Linked DNA regions of Homo sapiens: regions 2 and 3 are each linked to region 1. The links are contacts of gene promoters, found by promoter capture Hi-C in blood cells and fetal thymus (Javierre and others, 2016). All regions are on one chromosome and are shown on one strand. Each heading gives the region's core, a stretch centred on a gene start or on the middle of the fragment in contact. The rest is flanking DNA. Distances are from core to core; before and after follow the strand shown. Region 1 holds the start of GPR3 (G protein-coupled receptor 3). Region 2 overlaps AHDC1 (AT-hook DNA binding motif containing 1). Region 3 overlaps AHDC1 (AT-hook DNA binding motif containing 1).

Region 1 (4,836 bases), core at 1,583-4,082:
CCTGGGGAGAAGGCTCTGGTTTCTATGATCTCTTCGATAAAAAATAATCCAAAATAATAACAAAATACGTGGTTTCTCTTTCACCCTTTCCCCCCTCCAGGAACTGAGGTCAGAAATGGGGGTGAAGGGACAAGGGATACCCTGGTATGGCCTGGATATCAAGGTGTGGGCCTCTTTTTTGCCCCTTACCACCCATAAGTAAATTTATAAATAAATAAATCAATCATAAATAGACACTGTCTTTGTATATGTGCATATATAATCTTTCTCTCTCCTATTTAGGCAACTATGTGACTAATCTCTCTGACTCTTTAGCTCAGAAATTCAAACATAAAGTGACATGGTCAAGGTCAAGTTTGGGGGAAGAGGGACATCTGGGACTTGGAATGGCACTGTAAAACTCCCAGCATTCTGGAATTGCAACCCAGCTGGGCTGTGAGACATTTCTGAGTAGAACACTGACCACCTGAACATTCTGGAACCGTGGAGCCAGCTGGGCCCCCATAGGGATCTGAACAGAACCTTGAAACACCCAATGTCCTAGAACTCCAGAACCAGCTGGGTCTGGGGGGTGTGGAGCTGGGGGTTTGGAAAGAAGCCCTGGAGAGCCTAACATTCTGGAATTCTGTAGTAATCAGGGTTGAAGGGTCATGAAGACTCAGCTAGACATCACTGGGGGAGCGGGATCGGAAGGGGATCTTGGAAGAGGAACAGCAGCAGCAGACAGCCCACAGCACTTTCTGCACATCCTGGTTGCGGAAGGCGTAGATGATAGGGTTGATCATGGAGTTGTAGGTGGCAGGGAGCAAGGTAAGATAGGTGTAGAGAGGTGGAGAGTGGGCATCACCCAGCAGGCAGTAGACAGTGAAGGGCAACCAGCAGGCGGCAAAGGCTCCAAGCACCACGGCCAGTGTGGCAATGCCCTTGCGGGTGGCCACATAGTGGGAGGCAGGCAGCAGGTGCCGCTGAAGGGCAATCTGCTGGGCATGGCGGCAGACGATGCGGCAGATTTGGGCGTAGAGCTGCAGCATGATGCCAAACACCATGAAGAAGGCAATGGCCAGAACTACCAGATGGTTCTTGGAGAGTGGATAAACCACGCCACATGTGGTCAGGCCATCCAGGCAGTTCCAGGCCAGCACAGGCAGCAGCCCCAGGCCCAGGGCACCTCCCCACACTAAGGCCAGCATCACATAGGTCCGTGTCACTGTTGTCTCTGAATAGTAGGTGAGGGCATTGTACAGAGAAAGGTAGCGGTCGACAGTGATGGCCAGTAGACTGCCGATGCTGGCGGTAAAGGCCATTGCCAGCACGCCAACCAGCACCAGGCTCATCTCCGCTGAGCCGATGCAGAAGACAGCAGCAAAGTGCAGGACCAGGCCCAGGCCTGCCAGCAGGTCTGCCACGGCCAGGCTGCCCACCAGCAGGAACATGGGGGCACGGAAGGCAGGAGTGCCCACGATGATGGCCACCACTAGCGCATTCTCGCAGGACACCAGGGTGCCTGAGATGCAGAGCACCACATCCCAGGCCTTAGGCGAGGGCAGTGGTGCGGCTGGACCTGTGGGCCCCTCTGCTGGGCCCACGCTGCTTACATTCACGTTGCCTGAGCCAGCTGAGAGCCAGGCCAGAGGGCTGCCTGCACCCCACATCATGGTACCTGCAGGAGAAAGGCCTTGTGAGAAGCTGACCAAGCTGGGTGATGGGAGTTGGGGTCTGGAGGGGGTGAGGTGCTTCTCAGGATACGTGGTGGGAGTCTCTCCTCAGGATACCTGATAGGGTCCCAATGCCTTATCCCCACATTCATGCCCTGGGGCTCTTCCCAGGATACCGCTGTCCCCTCCAATGCCCCCAGGCCTCTAAACAGGGGTCTCTTCCTGGGGATCCCTGTCCTAGGTCCTGCAGGTCTCTTTTTCCCACGTGTGTGACCAGAGGAGAGACAGAAGAAGGGGTACTATAAGTGGAAGAGGGCCATAGGATCCAGGGGATGCCCCCGAAGGCTCAAGATTGGGGTAGGGAAACATCTACCCCATCAGGGAGACTGAGCAGCTCCGCTCCCTCCCATCAGAGATGATGATGCTAGCTCGTGCCTGAGGCTCCCAGACCCCTCACGATTTTCAGTACTGCCAGCCTTAGACTCCGCCCCCAGGGAATGCGCGTGAAGCTCCCGCCAGCCATCACCCCGCACTCCCGCGGTAACACCTGGGAACTCAGCCCCCCACCCCCCACCCTCCCAGACTTCTGTTCCTGGCTGGACCCTTCTTTCCGCCTGAATCTCTAGGTCTCTGGGCAGACCCCCCTGCTGGAAGACTGGATCCCTGAGTCAGATGCCTCCTTCTGCCCGGACACCTGGATTTTGGGCCTGACTCTGCCTCCTGCCTGGATACCTGGATTCCTAAATTGGACACCTCCTGCTGTTCGGACCCCTGGGTCCCTGCCCCAGACGCCTCCTGCCGGCTTAACCTCAGATGACCATCAGTCCCTCCAGGGCCTCGGGTCCCTGCAGGAATGCTTACCCTTCGCCGGGTCATCCAACTCAACCCCAGCACTCGAGCACTTGGGCCCAAGCCTGCTAACCCAGAATCGCCTAAACCCAGAATTCCCACCTCGAACTCGAACCCCGGCCGGCCACTAGGAGCCTTCCGCCGGCCCAGTGCCCCAGCATCCTGCGTGCCCTTCAGGACCCCTGGTGCCCGCGGCGGGGCCCGCTACTCACCGCTCAGGACCAGGCGCGGCCGGGCCGCGGGGAGGCTCCGCTCGGGTCCTGGCGGCGCAGGGCGTGCGTGGACCCCGAGAAGCCCCCGCGGCCGCGGGAGAAGCGGCGTGAGTCACCCCGCCCCGCCCCCGGCCACCGGTTCGGTGACGTCAGCGGTCCGATCAGCCAATGGGCGCGGCGCGCTGGGGCGCAGCGCGCGTTGCGCGGCATAGTAATAAGGCCTCGCACCGCCCGCTCCCCCATTCATAAAAAGCGACCGTGGCTGCGGCCCCGCCCCCTCCCGAGTCCGCCCGCGCTGTCCTTGACGCGGCGCCCTCTGCGGGCCGGGGGTTTCAGAGGCGCCGGTGCGAGAGCCTTGAAGTCTCAGAGAGGCTGCAGGGAACGTGGTGGAAGAGTGGAAAGGGGGCCCGGCTAGGCTGTGGGGTGATGGGACCCTTGGGTGGCAGAGAGGCTGACGAGATCCAGGTGACGAAGGAAGAGCTTGTGATGGGGCTGGTTGGGCTTCCCTGGTGAGAATGACAGGGTTTCCAAGATGATGGGGCCCTGAGGTGACGATGACAGGGAGCACGAGGGAGCGGGGAGGTGGGTGGCAGTGACGACATTAGCATGGTGACAGAATCTTGGGGTGGGGGGTGATGGCCGTGGGACGCTAACGGTAGAGGGGAAGCCCTCAGGGCAACCATGGCAGTGTCAGGGTGACTATGCAGCAGGGGGGAGTTCAGGGACCCCGGGATGGCAGAGGCAGCGGCCTGGGAACATGGAGTGTCCAGGTGACTTCAGGTCACCATTACCCTGTCAGAATGGCTGGGGTACTGAAGCGACAATGCTAAGCCATGAGGACTGTGGGGCCCTGGAACGAAGATAGCAGGTGGCTGTGGTGAGTGGGCTCCAGGGTGAGGGGCACAGGGTAGAGGGTCTGGACTGACAGTGACCAGGCAGGTAAGTTGCTGCCAGGGCAAGTCCCGTGATGCCGGGGCTGGGATAAGAGCTGGGTGACGTCACTCATGTCAGCCCAATAGCGCCCTCACAGCACCGGAGGGGTGGGCCTGGCAAGATTTCAAAACCTGAATTATTTATTCCAGTATCTAGAAAGCCAGCGTGGAGGGGGTGAGGGGTGCACTTCCCTGAAGCAGGAGGAGATGGGGAGCCGGGAAGAACTTGGAAGCAGAAAGCCTGGCAGCTCAGTCCTCAGGGCAGGCCCCTCTCAGCCTCCTATTTTAGGCATCCTGATGGGTGGAGCAAGGAGAAAGAGCTCCCTCTTCCCCAACGCCATCTGCCCTTAGTCCAGGGGAACCACTCTGGGCAGACTTCTCCAGATGTGACAGATGTGGCCAGTCCTGCGGCAGGGGGACTGGCTGCTCCTTCTCCCTGTGTCTCTTGCCTTGATGCTCCCTGGAATCATGCAGGCCTGTGGGAGGGGAAGATGAGGTTAAGAGGCCTGAGGATCCCAGGCCCCACTGGACACCCCCATCACAGCACCATCACTGCAGCCCCCATGGTCAGCCTCCACCAGGCAGGTTTTGGGTTTGAGTGTGAGGCAGCAGAAGGTCAAGTGGCAGGGAACATGGGAGGAGGAGGGGGTCGGAGCTGGAGAAGAGGATTCATTTCAGGTTGGATGTGGTGAGTTTAGGGGGCTTAGGGGGTGGAAGTGTCCAATCTCAGTTTCTCCATTTCCTAGCTGGGTGACTTTGGAGAGTTTCTTCAGCTCTCTGTGCCTATTTCCTCATCTAAAACACAGGGATAATATTAGTACCGGCCTCATGGGGTTGTTGAGTGGGTTCTACTTGCCATTGGCCATCAATGTTACAGCTGGATAATGAGGGACACCTGGGAGGTGTAGGCATGCAGGTGGCAACTGATGTTTTAGGGGTAAATAATGTCACCCAGGGGCGGGAGCAGAGAGTGAGGAGTGGCTTCAGGGGCTCCTCCTCCTGGGCTCTTGCACCTGACCCCTCTGACAACAACCCTTCTCTTCATCCAGGTCTCTGCTCCCGAATTACTTCTGAAACAGGCTGCTCTGAACTCTCAGATCGCCACTGGCCTCCCCATCACTCTCCCTCCCCTTCTCTTGATTTATTCATTTTTGGAGGATGAAGCACTCTTGAAATTATAAATGAATT
Region 2 (4,836 bases), core at 602-3,101, 190 kb before region 1:
AAGCTAGGTGAACAGCAAGGCCGAGGGCAGGAACTGAGGTTGGTTGAGGTCTAACCAGTTGCTGCGTAGGACAGAAGGGAAAGTTGTGGAACGGGCCTATGGAGGCGAGGCCTCAGAGGCTAGGCTGGGAGAGGGCAGCATGGAACTGAGCCGCCCTCTGAAAATCCAGTGTTGTAGTGTGACATGGAATGTACCCCTTAGAGAGTCAGCTTCAGGCTCTCCTACTAGGTCACTGGGTGACCACAAACAAAATGCCTTGTCTTCCCCGGCCTCAGTTTCCCCATCTGTGCAATGAGCCGATTAGTCTTGTGTAGGAGGGAATTCTGGCATCACGTCCTAGGGGTTGGTTGGTCTAGCCAACTGGGTCAGGCATTTTTCTGGCTTGGGATTCTGGGCCTCAGCAGTACTTTCTTCCAGAGCATCCTAAGCCAAAAGTGGAGGAAAGTGAGGGGTCCTCAGAGATGGATTTTGGGGCACTCCAAATGAGGGGCCAGGGCCTCAGCACAGAAGAGGGGGGTCTTGCCGAGACCTGACTCCAAGCCCCAGAGGGGACCCAGAAGAGAGGACCAGGGTGCCTCTTTTCTTCTGCTCTGACCTGTGTGGTGGTAGATGTGGCCCAGTGTCCAACCCCCCGACCTAGAGGGTGTCAGGACCCTTCCTGCCCACTGACTGGGGAGCAGGGCTTGGAGTGCCCTGGGGATAAGGAGCCAGGAGGCCAATCTGGGGTGGCAGAGCCAGGTGGGTGCCTATGGGTAGCTGGGCTCTGCCTTTGATATTTGGGGTTGCCGGGAGTTGTGGTGTAAGGCAGGTTTTGGTGACACACGCCTCCAGCCCAAGCTGCCCTGGATCCTGGCTTCAAGGGCCCCTTTAAGCATCTCACCTGTGAGGTAGGGCTAGGAGAGAATTAATTTCCTGTGCTATTTTAATTTTGCTGTATTTAATCTGCTGTTTATTTTAATTAATTAATGACGGGTAATCGCCTATCATAACCTACTGCCGCTGGCTCCTCTTCCTTTTCAAATGGGTGGAAGGCTGGGCCAGGTGATTGCCGGGTTAGCTGTGGGGGAGAGGGAGGTCCTTGGAGGCCTGTCCCTCTCCCCTTCTGCCTGTCTCATCCCAGGGGTCCTCTCCACCAGGGGTCCTCTCCTCCCATCTCACCTGTGGCTCCTCCTTTCCCTCCCTCTTCTCGCCCAGGTCTGCTTCAGGGCCTTGGAAGTAGTGACTGTGGCAATGAGGGGCCTGACCTGAGGCCCCTGCCTGTCTCTCAAGAAACAGTATTTTGATGTCATAGGATGGTAGTTGGAAGGATGGGGAGCTTGCCTTGGATGGCGCTTAGGCACCCTTGGGGAAACTTTTGAAGTTGGGGGTCAGTTTTTAACAGCAGCTCCTTTCCCCTCTCCCCCACCCCAGTGCCCAGACAGCATGCCCATCCACATTGTCGGGCCTGTGGGACACCAGCATGTCTTAGTATCTATGGACATATCCGGGGGTATGATTTCAGTTATTCATTAATCCCTAGGACAGACCTCCAGGGGGATTAACCCCTTGTATAGAGGAGATGGCTGAGGCTCAGAGAGGCTAAGTAACTTGCCCAGGGTCACATAGCAACTAAGCAGCAGGGCCTGAATTCTGGCCACAGTCTGATTGCATGGAAAGAGTTAACAGTTGGAGGAAGGGGAGGGGAAGTGGCTTGAGGACTAGGGTGGGGGGATTAGGTCAGAAGACTGATTAGGCCGGGAAATGGGGTCCTCTGCCTCTGGAGGATGTGGGGAGGAGGAGGGGGTCCCTGCCACAAGGGGCTTCTCGAAGGTGTGCAGTCTCTGCTACCTCTTCCCGTTTCCTTGTGTGTCTTCAGTTATCTGTTTGGAACAGGGGCTTTGTCACTAGCTCTGTACCCTACCACAGGAACCTTTCTAGAGCTAGGTGGAGCTCAACTTTTATTTATTTAACAAACATGTATATAGTGTTTACTATGTTCCAGATACTATTCCAACTTTATAAACAGATCTTCACTTAATTATTATTGCAGCCCTTTTATTAGTGTCTTTGTTTCATATATCAGAAAACTGAGGCATAAAAAGGTAAAGTGACTTGCCCAAGGTCACACAGTCAGTATGTGGTGGAGCCGCCCTTTGAACTTGGAAGGCTAGGATCCAGAGTCCTTGTTTGTTCATTTGTTCCTTCTTTTTTTTTTTTTTTTTTTTTTGAGACAGGGTCTTACTCCTGTTGCCCGGGTTGGAGTGCAGTGGAGCAGTCACGGCTCACTGCAGCCTCGACTTCCCAGGGTCAGGTGATTCTCTTCTCAAGTAGCTGGGACTACAGGTGTGCACCACCACACCTGCCTAATTTTTTGTGTTTTTAGTAGAGACGAGGTTTTGCCATGTCGCCCAGACCAAGTAGCTGGGATTACAGGCGCCTGCCACCACACCCGGCTAATTTTTGTATTTTTAGTAGAGACAGGGTTTTACCATGTTGGCCGGGCTGGTCTCGAACTCCTGACCTCAGGTGATCTGCCCACCTCGGCCTCCCAAAGTGCTGAGATTACAGGTGTGAGCCACCACGCCTGTCCTGTCCTGCCCCCTTGATGCCCTAAGTAGGAGATGGGAGCCCTGAATTCCTGGGGGATAAGGCATCTCTGGGGAGCCTCTAGTCTAGGCCGAAGGGGAGACCTAGCCCTGCCCTTCCCAACACTAAGTTTGATGGGGTGATAAGGCAGAGTGCTGTGGGGGAAACAGGCAGAGTGTCAGGCTGTGCCTCGCTAGGAGTGTGCAGATCAGTGGTTCAGAAGCCTCTATAGAGCACAGCTCACCCCGCTACAGTGCTGGCCACCAATGGGAGAGGTGGAAGGGTTGGCCTCAGAGAGCTTGCTGCCCAACTAACTGGAAAAACAAGGCTGATAGGTGTGGTCAATTCTCAACAGTGGGATAAAACAATAAGAGAAAAACATTGCAAAAAAATCATGTCATTTAAAGAATTTGGGCTTTGAATCCTGTGTGTCCTTAGTTACTTGACTCCTCTCTGAGCCTCAGTTTCCTCACCTGTTGAGGGGAAATAATAATGGCATTGATGCTATAGGGTTTTGTGAGGCTCAAATGAGATAAAACATGAAGGTTTAGCTTTGGAGCAGGGGCTCAGTGAGCATCCATCTAGATGCTAAGATCCAATACCTGGAGAAAGAAAGGGTCCCTCCCTGGGGTTGGCATCAGAGCAGATAAGGATGGGAATGGTGAGGATGGAATGGGCAGTGAGCGTCCCGACTTTGGAGTCAGACGGCTTGGGTTTAAATCCCAGCCCCTGGGAGCTGCTTTCCCTCTCTGGGCCTTGATTTCCTTGTCTGTAAAATGAGTATAATACTAGTTCTCCTCTCCTCCATAGGGTGTTGTGAGGATTAAATTAGCTAATTAATTTATTCAACAACTAATATGAAGCACCTGCTGGGTGCCAGACATGTTTCCAGTCACTGCAGATCATAAGGGGTCATGTTAGCAATCTTATTGTTACCACCATAATCTGGAAAGAGGGGACAACTGCTTGGGAAGGAGGCAGAGAGGAGGCTGAAGCCTTCAGAATGGAGATAAGTGAAATGATAAGATGCTATAGAAATAATAAAGAGCTGATACTTAGTGGTTACTATGTGCCAGGCACATTTGCTCATGAAGCAGGGGCTCATATTATCCTTATTTCACAGATAGGAATCGGGTTCAAAGAGGTACAGTGACATGCCCAAGGAAACACAGCTAATAGGGAGAGGGTGGAGCTGCAGTGTGAGAGACTCAAAAGCCACACTATTAGTCACAAAGCTTTAAACCTGATTAAGAGACGGGTTAGGGGTGAGGGCATTGATCCAGCAGAGGAAGGAGGGAGAGACCTGGCCAGGAGAGGGACAGGGGGAATAGAAAGGAAGGACAGAGGTGGGCAAGGCCTTCAACTTCAGGAAACAATTAGAGAATGAACCAAATCAACATACACTCCCCGAGTGGGTTTTCTCAGCAATAAACAACAAGACATGAGCTCAGGGAAGGGAACAAGTGAAGTCTGGAGGGAGGGCTTCCCAGAAGAGGTGAATCTTGAGAAATGGGTAGTTGAAAGAGATGGGGGAGCCAGAGCATGCCAGGCAGGGTGCCGGGCACCAGCAAAGGCCCTGAGGTGAGAATGAACGCGGCTTAGGGCTCAGAAGTGGGAGGAAATTGCTGAGTGAGATCAGGATGAGGATTGGGAGGGCTGGTGGCCTCAAGGACATAGGGAGGGTGACAGATTCGAGAGGCTTAGCTAATGTAGAAATAGAAATAAACGGCCAGGCATGGTGGCTCACGCCTGTAATCCCAGCACTTTGGGAGGTTGAGGTGGGCGGATTACCTGAGGTCAGGAGTTCGAAACCAGCCTGGCCAACATGGTGAAACCCCATGTGGTGGCAGGCACCTGTAATCCCAGCTACTCGTCAGTCACTTGAACCCAGGAGGCGGAGGTTGCAGTGAGCCGAGAGTGCGCTATTGCACTGCAGCCTGGGTGACAGAGGAAGACTCCGTCTCAAAAAAAAGAGAAATAGAAATAAACCCCCATCTGGACAGAAACTACAGTATAGTGATCAAGAAGGCAGGCTCTGCAGTCCAATCCTAGCTAAGTTGTGTCCCACCATGTGAACAGGGCAAGTCAACTGAACATCGCATCTCCAAAACACAGGGTCATCAAAGTACCTGACCCCTCCGATGAGATGCTCTGTGAGGAGTGCTTAGCACAGTGCCTGCCATGCAGTAAGCACTTGACTCATGCATTCATTCCTTAACCATCAAGTGCACACTTGATGTCAGGCACTTTTCTAGGACACACAGCAGTGAA
Region 3 (4,836 bases), core at 661-3,160, 140 kb before region 1:
TGCTCTGCAGCACTTTGAATCTCTGCTCAGCTGTCCCTCACTGCTGCCAGTGCCAGTCCCCCCCTTGACAGGCAGAGACCACTTAATGCCCTGGCACCTCAGATGGTGAAACCACCGGAGCATGAGGACTCAGAGGAATGTGGCTCTGCAGTTGTGTGTCACGGAGGCACTAAAAGGTGAAGTCTGCAGAACAGTGGTTGGTGTGCTGGGGGCCGGTGCGTGCTAGCCCTGGGTGTGCAGCAGTACCACATATAGGTTCCTGCCCTGGAGGAGCCAGGTCGGGATGACAAGGGTACCGTAGCTATGGTAACAGGGTGGTCTAAGGAGGTGTTCTGAAGGTGTGCAAGGCCGGAGCTGGACCTTGACATGCTGACCAGACTCAGGTCAGTCCCCGCTCTGTCACTCAGTCAGCGTACGTCTTGGCCCCAGCATGTGCTGGGTAGTGTTCAGCAGTGGTTGAAGAGCCACAGTCTCTCCTGCCACGACCAGGTTAGCTGCCTCCCCAGGACCTTCCGTGGCACAGCCCCTGTCTCCCTGCGTGGTAATTACCCTGGTTTGGGGTCTGCTTTGCTTTCCCCTCTATCTGTGAGCCTCTCAAAGACAGGAACCAGATCGGTCTTGGTCTCTGCTTTGTCCCCAGTGCCTAGCACTGGGCTGCCTGGCACGTTAGTGTCTGGTCCTGCTTTGTGGAGAGCTGAACCTGGTGAGGTCAGGGTTCCACACAGCCACAGCATTCTCCCCCACCTCCATGAGAGAACCCTGGGGCTTTTGGGCTTTGATTTCCCCCCTCCCCCGCTCCTTCCCATCCCGAAGATTCTGCCAAAGTCTCTGGCTGGCCAAGTCCTGAAAGCTGGGGAGGGTAGTGGGAGGAGGAAGGTGAGACGCGATGGGCGGCTTAGCAGAGGGTGAGAAAGCCTCCTGCTGCCTGGCCGCAGGCACCGCGGGAATGGTTCTGGCAGGAGCCGCCTGCTGGGCTGAGATCACCATGGAGACCTGGCTTAGAGAGGGTCACTGGCAGTGGCTAAGGGCCTGGGGTGGGGGTGGGGGTGCAGGGATTTGTGCAGAGGCTCCCAGCCTGCCCCGGGGCCCTTGGAGGGAGCAGGGGAGGCTGGCGTTGGACAATATCAGTTTGCCAGTGGTTTGGAGCAGCCCATCCTAAAGTCCCCTTCCCTTGTCACCCCCAACACCCCAACAGAGGTTCTTTAGCTTGGCAACTGTTCTTCAACCGCAATAGAGCAGTCCTCTGGATAGATGCCCCCAGCGCTCTGGCTCAAGCAGTTACCCCAGATAAAATCATTCTGCTCCCTAATAGACACCCCTCTTGTCTCTGCAGCCTGTTTACCGCCTGACTGTGGAGAGCTTGCATTCATCCCAGCAGCAGCCCTTGCCCCAAGAGCTGCTTTTCTACCTATCACCCCATTGCAGCACAGCTGTCACCCTCCCAGGCACACCGCTCGCCCCTACGGCTAGTATTCCATCCTCCTGCAACTGCAGGCAACCTGACAGCTTAACAAAGATGCAGCTCTTCTCCTCTCCTATGCCTCTGCCTGCCACCTGGTCTGGTCCACCAGGATGAGGTGCTGCCCTGCCTCTGCAGGAGCCCACCTGGTTCCCCTGGACCTTGGGGGAGTCCTGGCAAGTCCAGCCTCAGGACAAAAGTCGTCCCCGGGGCTGACTGCCCAGCAGACAGCAGCCGAGGCTGAGCAGAATTTAAATGTGGCTCTGGTAGAAAGGGAAGCCAAGAAAGTACAAGGGAGGAGAGGCTTTCTGCCGCCGCCTGATTCCTGCTGGTGTGGGGGAGGACGGATGGGCTCCTAAGGAACCTGAGGAGGCCCTTTCAGCATCCTCACCTCGCCCTTTAATTCGGATGGAGATGGTCGCACACTGAGGGTGGGAGATGTGTGTCTCGGGGCTCTGAGAGGAGGACAGAAGTCTGAAAGGACCAGGCTAATAATGACTGGAGCTCTTAGGAAGTCCCGAGCCCATCCCTGTCCTTCAGGGGACCTTCTCACTCACCCTAGCAGAGCTGTGAATCCAGGGGGTCTAGCCAAGCTGGGGGTCTGGGTAGGGAAGTCAGATCCCCAGGGCCCCGCAAGCATAATGAGAACTGTCTGGGAAAAAGGGGTACTTCCAATCTCGAGTGTCTGGCGATGGGAGGAACTGGGAACTTGGGAGTGTCTGAGCTTCAGGAAGGCAGGGTTAAGCCAAACACAGATGGCATTGTGTTGGGCAGTTTCTCTGTTCTTTCACTGAGAAAGACTTCCTCCTCACCTCACCTCTCTAAGGAACAGAATGGCATTGGTAAGAAGAGGATTGGATTTAGAAGAAATAAAAGCAGTTGTTCACACCTGTGCTGTGTGCTGAGGCCCTGCCCTCCCCATGATGTCATTCCTCAGAACAGCCTAAGTTGGAGGAATTACTAAACTCATCATGACATGAGGAGGCAGGTTTGGAGAGCCTAACTGCCCCAGAAAAATAATAATGAATAATAATCAGTATAATTTATTATGCACTTAAGGACCAGGCTTCATCTGTCCTATACCGCTGAATCCTCCCAGCAAACCAATGGGGTAGTTCAGTTATCTTCTTTTTACAGATGGGCAAACTGAGGCTCACAGAAGTTCAACAACATGCCCAAGGTCATAGCACTACTAAAGGGTGGCACTGGTATTTGAACTCAGCTGTGTCTGATTCCAGAGCCCAAGCTCTTAACAAATTCCACTGCCTGGAACCCCACCTCCTCACCCAGCACCTGCTTCACCCTGTGTTTTGGGGCTTGGACACGCATATTTTACAGATGGGGAAACTGGGCTCAGAGAAGGCAGGTCTGAGTTTTTGTGAGAAAGAACAGTGGTTAGCTTTCCCCCTCACCCTGCTGAATCCTGGGAGGAGCTGGGTGGGGGTCTCCCTCTTCACTTCCCTGATCTCAGAGCACAGTCGATGCGTGCCGCTCACTCCTGCCTCTTCTCTTGTGTTTCTTTGCAGCTTTCAGAAAACCAACGCCAAGATCCCTCCCAGCGTCCACATCGTCCTCTGGCAGGAGCTCCTGCCCCTCTGCCTCCCACCCTGCCCCCTACACCCCCTGCAGACCCATCTCCCTCCACCCCCTCCCACCCATCTCCTCCACGCAGAAGCCGAAGGTGAGCCCTTTCTGCACAAAACCAGCAATTGTAAATACTTTTTAAAAATGTACAAAACTTAAAAACAAAACACAGTTTTAGAAAAAGACAAAAAAAAAAAAGAGAGAGAGAGAGCGAGAGAGCGAGCGTGTGCAAGAGGTTGCGAGCGGGGCCCCGAGGTGTCCAGAGCCCCTGCAAGTATGCACTGAGAAATTTATCTACAGGTCGTTTGACAAAAATGAACAATATCCTATTTATTGTATATACTGTTTTATTATAAATCGTGGATTGTATATTGCATTCTGTAAACCTGCTGTGGTCCCGTGGTGTGCAAATTCGCATGGTGGGGGGGAGGGAGAAGAACCTCTTGCGGGAGCTTTTTTTTTCTTTCTTATTTTTCACTCTTTTGGGTTTTCTCTTCTGTTGTTGTTGTTGTTGTTTTCTGTTGGCAGGACACACCCAAAGATCCAAGTTTGTATTAAAAAGAAATGAAAAAAAGCAAAAAAAAAACAAAAAAAAAACAAAAAAAAAAAACCAACCTTGTGTCTTGTGAAAGGGGGAGTGAGGGTGGAGGGAATGGAAGGGACACCGCTGGGTTTTGTCACCAGCTACTGGTTCTCCAGAGGAGTTGAAATACCTACACGTGTTCCTGGCCACTGAGTTTTCCCTTCTGCCTGAGATCTGGGTTCCCCCTCATTTCACTCCAGGCCCTGCGTCTCCCCTGCCTCTGAGCTCCCCACTCTGCTGCCGAGGACATCCTGGCCCTTGATCATGCGTTCAGTCCCAGGTCCAGGGATTCTGCCTCTTGGACCTCCATTTTGTCCTAGGTCCTGGGTCTCCTCTGACTCTCCCTATATTCTATCCCAAGTCCAAGGTCTCCCCAAATGCTGGGTTTCCTCTCCCTGAGGAACCTCCATCATGGGGCTCCTGCTTCTGGACCCCCTTATTCCATCCAAGGTCCCAGGTCTCTGCCTCGAGTCCCTTTGTGTGTCCTGTGTATTCATGGCCTTTGGGCCTCACAGTTCTACTCTGGTTCAGGGACATCTCTCTTGGCGACACTCATTCCGTCCTAAGTCCCGGAACCCTCATGGGGCCTCCCTTTCCCACTAGGATTGGAGTGCCCCCCGTCTATGTATCTCCCATTTGCCCCAGGTCATCAGTCTTCTCTGCTTCCAGGCCCCTCATTTTACCCCAACACCCCCACATCTGCTTATGCAGAACCTGGGATATGACGAGGCCAGTCACCCCAGTGTTGCTCTGCCCTCCCCTTTCTGTCTACCCTGAACTCCAAATGTTTCCTCCCTGCTTTGGTAAACTTTGGAAAAAGAAAACTCCTAACCCTGTGCCTGCGTCTGGTGGGCCTGGAAGAGCTGAGCTGTTTCCTGATCCCTGACTTTGGGGACCTCTTGGGTGTCCTTGCCCAAATGATGCCCACTTTGGCCTCCCTGGTCTTTGGGAAGCAGTTTTTCCCATAGACCCATTTTATGTTTAAGTTCTGCTGAGTGTGGCTTCACGTCCCTCCTCAGTGAAGCTCAGGGAGATGCCAAGGGATCGTGCCACGGGGCCTGCCCTCCCTGACCCAGCCAGCTAGGCCCTGGCCTCAGGAGAGTCAGAGGAGCCCGTGGTCTGAGGAGGAAACACACCTTCTGGGCACACCTGTCTGGAAGAGGCAGGAGGACTCAGGTCACAGTCCCCTGAAACTGTTGCCTCTGTGCTA

What was found. Contacts are between HindIII fragments. The CHiCAGO score rates a contact against its expected background, and 5 or more counts as called.
Region 2: a fragment that was not itself captured here is called in contact with the fragment with the promoter of GPR3 in region 1 in 9 of 17 cell types (non-activated CD4 T cells, fetal thymus, naive CD4 T cells and 6 more); the score reaches 8.3 in non-activated CD4 T cells.
Region 3: a contact is called between a fragment that was not itself captured here and the fragment with the promoter of GPR3 in region 1, in 2 of 17 cell types (endothelial precursors and naive CD4 T cells). The highest score is 5.8, in endothelial precursors.

The regions. Positions count from the first base shown.
Region 1 is chr1:27,390,618-27,395,453 of GRCh38, reverse strand. GPR3 (G protein-coupled receptor 3) reads right to left here and starts at 2,832. Exons shown (of 2, transcript NM_005281.4): 1 at 2,717-2,832; 2 at 1-1,660. The coding sequence starts at 1,655. The coding sequence ends at 663. RefSeq lists enhancers at 444-1,241, 2,070-2,605, 3,143-3,679, 3,680-4,216 and a silencer at 2,629-3,128. The HindIII fragment of the contact is 9,449 bases long and covers 1-4,836 here.
Region 2 is chr1:27,582,624-27,587,459 of GRCh38, reverse strand. The region is part of intron 3 of AHDC1 (AT-hook DNA binding motif containing 1); the gene reads left to right. Among named protein-coding and RNA genes, the nearest start is that of AHDC1, 19 kb to the left of the region's middle. The HindIII fragment of the contact is 3,903 bases long and covers 1-3,802 here.
Region 3 is chr1:27,533,066-27,537,901 of GRCh38, reverse strand. AHDC1 (AT-hook DNA binding motif containing 1) reads left to right here. Exons shown (of 9, transcript NM_001371928.1): 9 at 2,986-3,657. Among named protein-coding and RNA genes, the nearest start is that of WASF2, 45 kb to the right of the region's middle. RefSeq lists an enhancer at 1-362. The HindIII fragment of the contact is 6,262 bases long and covers 1-4,836 here.